Linked DNA regions of Homo sapiens: regions 1 and 3 are each linked to region 2. The links are contacts of gene promoters, found by promoter capture Hi-C in human tissues and cell types (Jung and others, 2019). All regions are on one chromosome and are shown on one strand. Each heading gives the region's core, a stretch centred on a gene start or on the middle of the fragment in contact. The rest is flanking DNA. Distances are from core to core; before and after follow the strand shown. Region 1 holds the start of MRPS25 (mitochondrial ribosomal protein S25). Region 2 overlaps CHCHD4 (coiled-coil-helix-coiled-coil-helix domain containing 4). Region 3 holds the start of HDAC11 (histone deacetylase 11).

The links. Contacts are between HindIII fragments. The study calls those that stand out against the background at their distance.
Region 1: a contact is called between the fragment with the promoter of MRPS25 here and a fragment that was not itself captured in region 2, in 1 of the 25 tissues and cell types used here (spleen).
Region 3: a contact is called between the fragment with the promoter of HDAC11 here and a fragment that was not itself captured in region 2, in 1 of the 25 tissues and cell types used here (dorsolateral prefrontal cortex).

The regions. Positions count from the first base shown.
Region 1 is chr3:15,063,683-15,067,245 of GRCh38, forward strand. MRPS25 (mitochondrial ribosomal protein S25) reads right to left here and starts at 1,633. Exons shown (of 4, transcript NM_022497.5): 1 at 1,379-1,633. The coding sequence starts at 1,512. RefSeq lists an enhancer at 1,613-1,792. The HindIII fragment of the contact is 13,424 bases long and covers 1-3,563 here.
Region 2 is chr3:14,115,822-14,119,828 of GRCh38, forward strand. CHCHD4 (coiled-coil-helix-coiled-coil-helix domain containing 4) reads right to left here. Exons shown (of 3, transcript NM_001098502.2): 2 at 605-703. Among named protein-coding and RNA genes, the nearest start is that of CHCHD4, 7.0 kb to the right of the region's middle. The HindIII fragment of the contact is 4,215 bases long and covers 1-3,361 here.
Region 3 is chr3:13,478,450-13,482,045 of GRCh38, forward strand. It overlaps HDAC11 (histone deacetylase 11), which reads left to right and starts at 1,857. Exons shown (of 10, transcript NM_024827.4): 1 at 1,857-1,900; 2 at 2,797-2,945. The coding sequence starts at 1,899. HDAC11-AS1 (HDAC11 antisense RNA 1) reads right to left here and starts at 1,604. Exons shown (of 2, transcript NR_046690.1): 1 at 1,194-1,604. RefSeq lists enhancers at 1,213-1,272, 1,922-2,578 and a silencer at 1,733-2,222. The HindIII fragment of the contact is 10,065 bases long and covers 1-3,596 here.

The DNA of each region.
Region 1 (3,563 bases), core at 383-2,882, 950 kb after region 2:
GCCATTTAAAAGCCAGAGATTTACATAAAAACCTAGATTTCAGCTTCTTGACAAATGAGAAATTCTCCACGGAGCCCACAATGCCAAACAGTGAAGGGCCCTCTGGATAGGGCATGTGCTCTCCAGCTCGCTGCGGGCCGCACCGAGACCCCCACCCCTTCCCATTATCTGCCTGGCAGTTGCCCGGGGACAAAGGTGTGCACAGTTGTGCAGTAGGTTATGAAGGAGTATCTGGGTGCCCATACACCCTAAGACCAAGACCAAGTCTTCCAGGAAGCCATCAAGCCAGCTGATTCCAGGCAAGCAGGTCCAAGTTATCAGATTCACCTGCGCAGAGCAAATGGCTAGGAAGCGGCTTCCGGATCTCTTGAAGGGCCATGCAGTGAAGGTCCGTCACCAAGGGGACCATGCCCCACAAGAAGTTGCTCCCCGCCCCCACGCCTCATTTTGATCCAACATACACCCAAGTCCCAAAGTTTCTGCGGGCTAAGGCTGCCTCCTCCATCACTGCTGAACTCCCAGCACACAGCACACAGCCTAGCACTCAGAGTGTACTCAATAAATGTAGACTTCATACCTGCAGAGCCTAAGGCACTGCTTAGGGCTGCCTCAGGGTCAATCCAAACCTTTCACTTGCCAACTGCCATTCAATGAGTCCCTACTCTGCTCCAAGCTGAAAGACATCCTAGGCGTTCCCTACAGTTCCTTCTAGTCGGGGTAGGGTCTGCCGCTGCACAGCTGACATAATTAATCACTTCCTTCCAAACCTTGAGTCCCGAAGGAAGCGGCCACACTGCCCGGCTCACCGCTCACCGGCTGGCATGGTGTCTCGTGGAGCTGCAAGTTACTTAACCTCTCTGTGCGCTTCCCCAGCCTTAGAGTGGGGATAAGCTGGGGTTTCTCTAGGCATCAGAAAAAAGAAAGCGCGAGAAGCATTCAGAACTGTGCGAGATATGATCAGTGTTCGCCGCTGTTATTTCTCTCATTTTATCCTCAGATTCGTCCTGGGGTGTCACCCCCGTCACCCCGAAAGGATCTGCGGCTGCCCCTCCCCAGCGCTTGCCTTGCTGGCCAGAGGGGCCAAGGGAACTGGTGGCCTCCCTCGGGTCAGCCTCGCCCACCGCGCCGGAGGAAGGAGATCCAGGAGTGGGGTTCTTGTCCTCCGCCCCCCAAACCTCGTCACGACTGCAGCCGGCCCGGCGGGGGCCCCGCCGTCCGCCTCAGTCTGGACCTCTGTAAAATGGGGGTAACAGCGCCGACCTGGGGGGCCCGCCCCGGGGATGAACGGCCGCCCAGAGCGACTCGGGACCTCACGTTACCAGCAGGCTGGCACGACTAGCAGGTTACGGCTCGCCAGGCGGCCGGGGCTGCGACTGACCTGGCGCCCTCGCCCAGCTCCCCATGCGTGTTGTAATTCACTGTCATGACCTTCACGGAGTCCTTGAACACCACGTTCCCCTGGCTCAGATATTGCAGGGTGCGGCGGATGGGGAAGCGGCCCTTCATGGGCATGGCGGCAACGGTGGCGGGGCCGACCCCACGGGCCGCGAGCCGAGCAGCGACGAGAAAGGACTAGCTAGCACCCGCGCGGATCTCACGCGGCTTCTCCCCAGAGCCAGGTTCCACTTCCCGCGCAGACGCACAGGAGACGCTTCCCGGCGGGCAGCGCACGCCGCGGAGCACTCTGGGACTTGTAGGCGGCCTTCGACCCGGCGCGGCGAGAACCGGTGTGTGCAGCTTCGCTTTAGGACGCCTTCCCCTTGGAAGGTTTAGGTTGTCGCGTCCTGTAAATTAGTCATTTCCCCATCCACCCACGGGAAAATATTTTTACATAGGCTAAAAGTCAGACATTGCAATAAGAAATAATCAGGAAAGCTCAGTTTGGATACCAAGTCAGCTGATAACGTCCTATTGAACGTATTGTCCATTTTTCTCCCCAAACATCTCCAGTTTTATCATGAAGAGTTCAAACTGCACTTTCTGACGTTGACTTAAACTTCTTAGCAAAAGAAAAAAAGATGGTTTGGGATCAATTCCTTCCTAAATTCAGCCACTTAACTCAGGACCTCAATTTTTTCGTAAACAAACTATGGGTGAGATGTATTTCTAGGGCCAGGCGCGGTGGCTCCCGCCTGTAAACCCAGCCTTTGGGGAAGCCGAGGCGGAAGGATCGCTTGAGGTCAGGAATTCGAGACCAGCCTGCCCAACATGGCGAAACCCCGTCTCTACTGAAAATACAAAAATTAGCCTGGTGTGGTGGCAGCACCTGTGGTCCCAGCTACTCAGAAGACTGAGGTGGGAGGATCGCTCGAACCCGGGAAGTTGCAGTGAGCCGAGATCGCGCCACTGCACTCCAGCCTGGGCGACAGAGCAAGACTCCCTCTCAAAAAAAAAAAAGATACATTTCTGAAGTACTCTTGATCTGAAAGGTATTTCTCCTTCTCTTTTGAAGAGTGATTTTGCCAGATTTAGAATTCTAGGTTAGTGTTTTTCCTTTCCCTCCCTCCCTTCTGGAGTGCAATGGTGCTATCTTGGCTCACCGCAACCTCCGCCTCCCAGGTTCAAGTGATTCTCCTGCCTCAGCCTCCCGAGTAGCCGGACTTACAGGCATGCGCCACTACACCCAGCTAATTTTGTATTGTCAGTAGAGACGGGGATTCTCCATGTTGGTCAGGCTGGTATCAAACTCCTGACCTCAGATGATCCGCCCGTCTCAGCTTCCCAAAGTGCTGGGATTACAGGCGTGAGCCACTGCGCCTGGCCCTGGTGTTTTTCTTTCAACAATTTAAATAGTTCACTCCACTCTTTTTTTGCTTGCATGGTTTCAAACAAGTAATTAAATGCAATTACATTTATAGGTATGATGGCTTTTTCCTTTAGCTTCTTTCAAATTTTCTCTTGGTGTTTGGTTTACGGGGTTAGAATAAGGTAATGCAGATCTGTAGATGTTTTGTATTTGTCCTGCTTGGAGTCCTCTGAGCCTCCTGGATCTGTGATTTCATGTCTGTCATTAATTTTGTAAAGTTCTTAGCCATTTATTAGTTCAGGTATTTATTCTTCACTCTTTTCTCTTTCTAGTATTCAAGTTAAATGCATTTTATGTCTTCTGGAATTGCCTCATAGTTCTCGAATGTTCTGGCGGGGTGATGGAGGTTCTCTTTGCATTTTAGTGGGGAAGTTTCTGTTGACCTATCTTCAAATTCATTTAATCTTTGGTTATGGACAGTCTACTGATAAGCCCATTAAGGCATTTTTCATTTAAGGTTTTAACTTCTAGCACTTCCTTTTGATTCTTAGGGTGTTTGTTTGTTTGTTTTGAGACAAAGTCTCTGTCACCCAGCCTGGAGTGCACTGGTGCAATCTCTGCTCACTGCAACCTCTACCTCCTGGGCTCAAGCAATTCTCCCACCTCTGCCACTTAGCTGGGACTACAGGTGCACACCACCATGCCTGGCTAATTTTTTTTTTTTTTTTTTTTGAGACGAAGTCTCGCTCTGTCACCCAGGCTGGAGTGCAATGGCACTATCTTGGCTCACTGCAACCTCTGCCTCCCAGGTTCAAAT
Region 2 (4,007 bases), core at 4-2,503:
CACATCCACCTCACACGGTCTGCAGTAGTAAGTATCTAGTGAGTTTAGCAGCCCAAATCCTTTGGAACAATGTCCTAGGCCTAAGCGACCACTGTTATATTCAGCCATTAACCAAGGAGTGAGCAACAGCTCTGACTAGGTTAGCTGACTCCTGCTGCTAGAAAGCTGTCTGTGGCAAGTGACCTTTTCATGTAAGGTGCTTGCTGGAGCAGTTAGAGACAGCAGGGACTTCACCAACCTTACAGAACAAGGTGAATGACTGTCTACTTGCTAATAAAGTTGGTAGATGTGGCAGAATTCAGTCTGGCAACTTGTCTGAGCAAAAGCCCTGTCACCTTAACCTACCTATAACTGCTGGAATCTACTAATACCCTCTCCCAAAACTTAGCTGTTGTGCCAGGGAAGTACATCAGAACAAGGCTGGAAAGCACAGTCCCTCAAACCTCTGAGGAAGATAAACCACTGCCCTCAGAGATGGTCTATGGCTGAGAATAGATACCTGAAAACTTGGCCTTGGCTAGGAAAACATGGGAAAGGAATTAAGAACACTGAGCTTCTCCCCAGTGCCCTGGTGTGGGTCCCTGGGAGGCCACATGTCACTCACCATGCTCCTCGTATGGATCGTTGGGGTCATCAGCCACCAATTCTGCACTGCTTGGAGTTTCATGATCTTCTTTGGTTACAAATATGATTCGATCCTTCCCTAGTGTTTGGAGAACAGAGGAAGAAATATTTCATTCAAGAGCAGTGAATCAGCTTTAAACCCAAAGCAGCCGCCACACAAACCAAGTTTGAAGACTCTCCCATATGCCATCCCTATGTGAGGTGACTATCAAACTGCTCTCATATGCTAGGGGTAGCAAACAAAAGCGGATGGATAAGGGGCAGGGCAGGAAAAGAAGCACTGAAGAAAAAGAGTGTCCTGGGGTTGACCCACAGGGTTCAGAATGCATAAAAGTTGAAGGAAGACTGAGCACATTGGCAAAGTGAGTGTGCAGTGATGTGGGTCCTCAGCCTACAGATCACTGCAGCCCACATAGCTGATGCGGCCACAGGCCCCTGCCTCTGAAAGGCTGAGGACACAGGTGGTCTGAGAGGGACCACAGCCAGCACCCCCACTAGGCCTCTGGGCTCCTAATCGTGGCCGGAAGAAGGAAGGGTCATAAGGTGAGGAACACTGCAGCCGTTCCACTCCCCACAGTCCAAGAGGCCGGGGGACCATTTCCCAACAAGTATAATAACTGGAGGGGGGCAGTGGGAGGAGCACTTCTCAGATCTTTTTAACTGTGACCATCTGCAGTTTATTTTTTTAGGACAAACCCAACAGTGGTTAGGGTCAGGACTGTGGTCCTGTGAGGACCAGCATGGGAAAGCCAGCAGGCCTAAAGTGCAGAGCACCTTGTTCACAACCAGAGCCCTCACCCTGGGGCCTGGCTGCCGGAAGGTCTGAGGGCTCCAGGAAAACAGACCAGTGAGAGTCAAATGCATTTTATATTAGGAGCTTCTCCTCACTGGAGGCTGGGTGAGCACAGAAAAGCACATCAGTCCTGGCCAAACCAGGGTGGGTGCATTCACTGCCTTAGAGTGACCCCCTATGAAGTATTATCACCCTCAGCCCCCATGGAGTACAACAGAAAACCAAGGCTGAGTTAAGCAGAAGGGAGGTCCTTACAGCCCTCTCTGCTACACCTTGTAGCTGTCAACACTTTACCTCACCTCCCTAAAAACTTTGGCCATCAGCTAACCACACCACAGGTATGTGTCAGATATTCCCATTGTGGGCAAGGAGCACCTTGTCCTCAGTACCCCACACTGCACGGTGGGTCATCAGTTTCTCCAGCTGTCCCCAGAGAACAGACAGAGCCAGTCCATCTTTTGGTCCTCCGTGTGAGCTCATTCCTCCATCCTATCGCCACCCTGAGAGGGAGGTAGCAGCATCCCCTTTTAATGGTGGTGAGCCTGAGGCTGTGAGTAGTAACTTGCTGGGCCACACAGGACAGGATGCTCTGAAGTCTACACTGTTGGAGATCCTTTCTACACACCCATACTGCCCCGCACCAACATTTGCACAAGAATAATCGACAGCTGACACTGAGCACTTAGCATGACTGGGCACTGCCTGAGAGCTTGTGCACCTTGGGCAATGAATAAATACAATAAATTCTGACCCAACCTCGGCCCCAAAAAGCTTAGAACCAAGTGAAATGTTTGCCAAGTAAACAAACAAGATCTTTCTTGTACTTTCCTGGTGAAGGTGAATGACAAATTCTACAGACCAACTGACCATGCATTCTGATCCTAGAAGATCTGGGGTACTGGGACCCTCATCTGGAAGGGGATAGGAGGTGCCAAGCATTTAAGAAGACTTCTTCAGGTATGGCCAAAAGTGCCTGGCAGAGAGCCACAGTGCATGGCTCTGAGTGAGTGGCCACTGTGGGCGCAGAGGCCGGACCTGCAGAAACGTGGCCCTGTGAAAGCTGCGGGCATCTCTGATCACTTTATACTTTTTGTTTATATTTAGAAAAGTTCAGTCACAGCTATGCTGAGGGGAAAGCAAGGAAAAAGGTTTGGGCCCATGCTTGGGCTGAAGTAATTAAGGAAGAGGCTTCTGGAAGGAAGGGGGCAGTGACAACAAAAACCGAGCGACATCTCCAGTGAGAAGGACAGTTCAGGGGACAGAGGGAGGGCACTTTGGTGCCTTACGCCATGCCCACACTGCACAGGGTCTCTTACACTAGAACAGAGTAACAACAAAAAACCCTCAGCACACGGGGCCAGGACCCCCAACCCACTGGAGGCTTTTGCTCCCAGAGCTGGCCTCTGCCTCAATACCTTGCATGTCATCCAACAGAAGGCTGCTTTTCCCCTGTGGCTGACTGGGGAAAGCTTTTGGACCAGGCAGCCAGGACTTGTTAAAGTACCTAGTAACCTTGATTCTACTATTCTGGCCAGTTTCCAAAATACTCAAAAGCAATCTGTAAAAATGTTGAACGCTAAGCAGAATGAGCTGATGCAAATTTCGCAACTCAGCTCTGGCAGTTTTGTTTACCGAGATGGCAGCTCAGCGCAGCCCAACGGGGAGGCCCAGTCACAGGCACAGAAAGCAAAGGGTCCAAACGTGGTAAAGTATGAGGCCCTCCTGGGGTTTGCCATACATAGAGAGACCAGGCCTCACCCAAGAAAAGCTGAATCGAGCTCTCTGCCATGTCCATGTAGCTCACGGGCTTCACAGGTGACTGTGATACACAGCCAGGTTAGGAAACACCAGCCTAGCACAATCCCACTGAGAATTCCAGGTCCCTCCCACTGGGCCAGGTCCTCACATGTGCCTTCCTGGACATTTTCCCTTGCAGCACAGTTCACACTGGATCGAAAGTAGAACAGTAACAGCTGTATCTTTTACACATTTTTGTCCCATGCAATGTGTTTTATTACATCTGTGAGTTCACTGGTGGGTATTACTTTATCTCCATTTTACAGAGACCACAGGATCTGAGAAACAGACCAAAAGACATGCAGTAAATGAAGGCAGAACAGGAACAGGAACTCTGGTCTGAAAGATCTGGAGTATGTCCCCTACAAACTGTCCATTGTATGCCTGTCCTAGAGGGCCTTTGCTTTCTGGAACTTTTAAAAGTCGATTCAAGGACTGATGCAAGGACAAGGCTTACCTATTCCTAACAGACCTAACTGTGAAAGAAAGGACTGGTCAGACTAGTCGTAAGATGCCAACTAGTGGGACAATCAGCTAGACTAGTAGTTCTCATGACATTTGTCAGCAATTTCTCTAGAGAAATAAAATTTAAAAGTGCTTGTGTTTTTATTTCTAAGATAAGCTTTAAAAGCAGTTGAATATGCATGTTCTGAAGGAGGTGGAAAACTACCTTAAACCCTCTGGTGCACAGTGGCTTCAATATTTCAATATCACAGAGAGTCTGAGAACTGGAGTTCAAATCTGGGCTTAAGCACTTCCCACTGTATGAGCTCAGGTACCATCTGGGCCTCAG
Region 3 (3,596 bases), core at 607-3,106, 640 kb before region 2:
CACTCTCTTTGGCCTCAGCTTCAGGTCCAGGCTGCCCAGATCCTCATTCTCCCAACCAGAGGATCATCTGTGTGGCTTCCCAAACTACAGAGCAAGTTCCCTGAGGGGAAGTCGGTCTCTCACAAATGCCACAGGGCCACTGCATGCACTCTGTCACTTTATAAAATAGTACTTATTCCTTCTGTGGTTTACATCTGCCCACATCCCTGACCTTTGAGTGAGTTACTTCACCATTCTGTGCCTCAATTTCTTTATCTATAAAATGGGGATGACAATAGTTTGCCTCCTAGGACTGTCAGAAGAGTTCGACAAGCAAAAAGCATTTGGACTTCAACTTAGCACATGACAGATGGTCTCTGAATAATAATCAACATTATTGTCTCTTGATTCCCTGGACTTGCCCATGAAATCCAGAGAATGAAGTGCAACCAGAACTTCATTTTCTTCCTTTTTTTTTTTTTTGAGATGGAGTCTCACTCTTGTCGCCCAGGCTGGATTGCAATGGCGCGGCCTCACCGCAACCTCCCCTCCCCGGTTCAAGCGATTCTCCTGCCCCAGCCTCCCGAGTAGCTGGGATTACAGGCGCCCTTCATCACGCCCAGCTAATTTTTTGTATTTTTAGTAGAGACGGGGTTTCACCATGTTGGTCAGGATGGTCTCGAACTCCTGACCTCAGGTGATTCACCCGCCTCGGCCTCCCAAAGTGCTGGGATTACAGGCGTGAGCCACCGCACCCGGCCCAGTACTTCATTTTCAGATGCAGACATGAAGGACCAGAAGGCTGAAGCAACCTGCCCAAAGCCACTATGCTGGCGGGTGGCCGAGTTTGGGTTTAATCCAGGCCCGAACCTCAGTTCCCTCAAGATAAAGTTGGGGTGATTATGGCACCTTTCTCAGGATTAGGTTGTGAGGCTCAGATGCCATCATGCAATCATGGCAGGCACACGGGGGCCCCTCTTCAAACGTCTGTGCGCTTCCCTTGTGCCCCGCCCTGGCACACAGCCGCCCCCGCGGAGCCCAGGGATCCCAGCCCGGCAGTCCTCCGTCAGCTGCTTCTGTTTGGATGGCGGGGACGGCTGGGCCGACAGAGAGGCCCATTGTCTCCGTCCTCTGGGGCTCTATTGTTGGGGCCTCCTCCTGGGTTGCAGCCCCACGGACAACCCCAGCTGTCGCTTGGGCCTGGCTCAGCTTACCCCGGCGGTGAGGGTGCGGGTCGGGGACGGAGACGCGTGCACCCTGAAGACAGTAACTAGGCCTGCTCTACAGAGGGAAACGCAGGCTCTGAGAGCCTACATGTCTTCGCCGGGAGTGCTTGTCCCGGAGCTGCTCGCAGACTGGGCCGGGGGTGGGCTCGGGTCGGAGAGGTCACGGGGCTCCTTAGGTCACAGGCGGCAGGGCCAGAGAAACTCCCCCGCCCCTACGTTTAACTCGCGGAAACAAGGGCCCAGAGAGCCCAGACGCCAGCCCAAGGTCACACAGCGAAGCCCCGGCACAGCCCGCCGGGAACCTGTCGTTTCTAACCCCCAGCCTCTCGCCGTTTCTACCCAGCTTGGGAAGCGCAGGAACAGGACATACGGTGGTCGCGCCCCTTCCGCGAGGCCGGGGTGAAACCCGCTTGGCCCTCCCGCCAGGGGGCGGAGCTTCCGAACCAGGCGGGATTCCACCGGGTATTTGCCTGCGGAGGCGGGACTTCGGGCTTGATGGGCGTTGGGGGTGGCCTTCCTGCGGGCAGGCTCTCTGTGTCGCAACACTGGCGGGGCGGGCCAAATCGGCCAGAGCTCTGCCCCCAGAGGACGCGGCTAAGCCCGGGGGCGTGTCCTGGGCTGGCCCCACCCGCGCCCCGCCCCGCCCCGCCCGGTCGCGGAGCTGCGGCCAGCTTTGGGAGGGCCGGCCCCGGGATGTGAGTGCCGCGGGGCGAGGGCGGGGGTGGGCTCCCAGGGGTCCCGGTGGGCGGGCGCGCTAGGGCGAGGGCGGGGACGGCCGGGCGGGCGCGCCAGGTAAGGGCCCAGATTTGCTGGTGAGGGGTGAGGGACGCTCGGGACGGGTGTTTCCAGGCCCTCCCGGCGCGCCAGGCCAGCCCCGCGCCCCTGCTCGGTGGCCCGAGGGACGCGCGCCGGCCGCGGGCCTGGGCCCGGACCCGGAGCGGTCGGGCGATGTGCGCGGGTCTGACGTCTGCGCTGCCCAGCCCCCTGGCTACGCGGACGCCCCCACGGAGGCAGCCACTGGGGCGGATTTCTGTCTCTGGGTGACGACTGCCAGGGTGTGATGGGAAGGGTTAGCAGCGCAGCGGGGTCAGGGGATCCCCGCCCCCCGCCCTGGCTCAGGTTGGGTCCCGACTTGGGTTTCTGAGTGCTTACTGTGCTCAGCTCCTCAGTTGCATTCTCTGAGTCCTCACAACAGCCACACATTTTGCAGCCGAAGCCTTGTGCCACACAGCTGTGGGGGCATTTATTACGGTGCAGAGGTGATGCGCGGAGGCCTTGCAGCCAGACACACCTGAGTGCACGCCTGCTTCTCCACAGACCTGCACTGTGACCTTGGGCACACCTGGTCTGCTCTCTGAGCCTCTGGTGCGATTGTGGTGCCTACCCCCAGGGCTGCTGTGAGGACTGGATTGGAATTGGGTTCCGGGAAAGGCAGCCAGTTTAAGCAGCTGTTGTTGAGGGGCCCTTGTCTGCGGCTGAGGGGCTAGTGGTGCTGGGCAATGGCTGGTGGGTCAGTCCAGGCGGGCTCGGGAGGGAGCTGCTTTCTGCCGAGGCTGCCCCAGCTGTGCGTCTGTCTTTTTCCACACGGTAGGCTACACACAACCCAGCTGTACCAGCATGTGCCAGAGACACGCTGGCCAATCGTGTACTCGCCGCGCTACAACATCACCTTCATGGGCCTGGAGAAGCTGCATCCCTTTGATGCCGGAAAATGGGGCAAAGTGATCAATTTCCTAAAAGGTATGGAAGGTCCCCCTTGGACTCTCATCTGCTTCCTCCAACCCACCTGTCCTCTCCGTCCTCATCCCCAACATAAGCCTCAGGCTCTCTCCCATCTTCAGTTTCAGCCCTCGGATGGCCTTCCACCCATGCTTCCGCCCAAAATGATTTTTCCAACACAGACTCCTAATCACGATATGATGTCCCTGACTCAGACTCTCCCTGGCTCCCCATCCTGTGGGCCTAAGTCCTGCCTCTGCCCAAGAGGCCTAGTGGAAAGGTAGCTGATTACTGATGGGCACAGGGAAGGTGAAGCTTGGAGGAGTCCATTTCCTAAGGTTCAGAGAGTCAGGAGGTAGAGCACCTCCACCGCACCTCTCTTGATTACAGATGGGGGAAATTGTGTCCTAGAATGATTAGGAAACATGTGCACCCAATTCCAGTCCAGTCCTCACAGCAGCCCTCGGGGTAGGCACCACAATCGCAGCAGAGGCTCAGGAGCTCACTGTAACCTCCGCCTTTCAGGTTCAAACAATTTTTCTGCCTCAGCCTCCCAAGTAGCTGGAATTACAGGCGTGAGCCACCACACCCGGCCCTGATTTCTTAATATGGCACTCATTATAAGATTGTAAAAGCCCACCTGTAGACCGAACTGGGCACACTGGCTGCCTG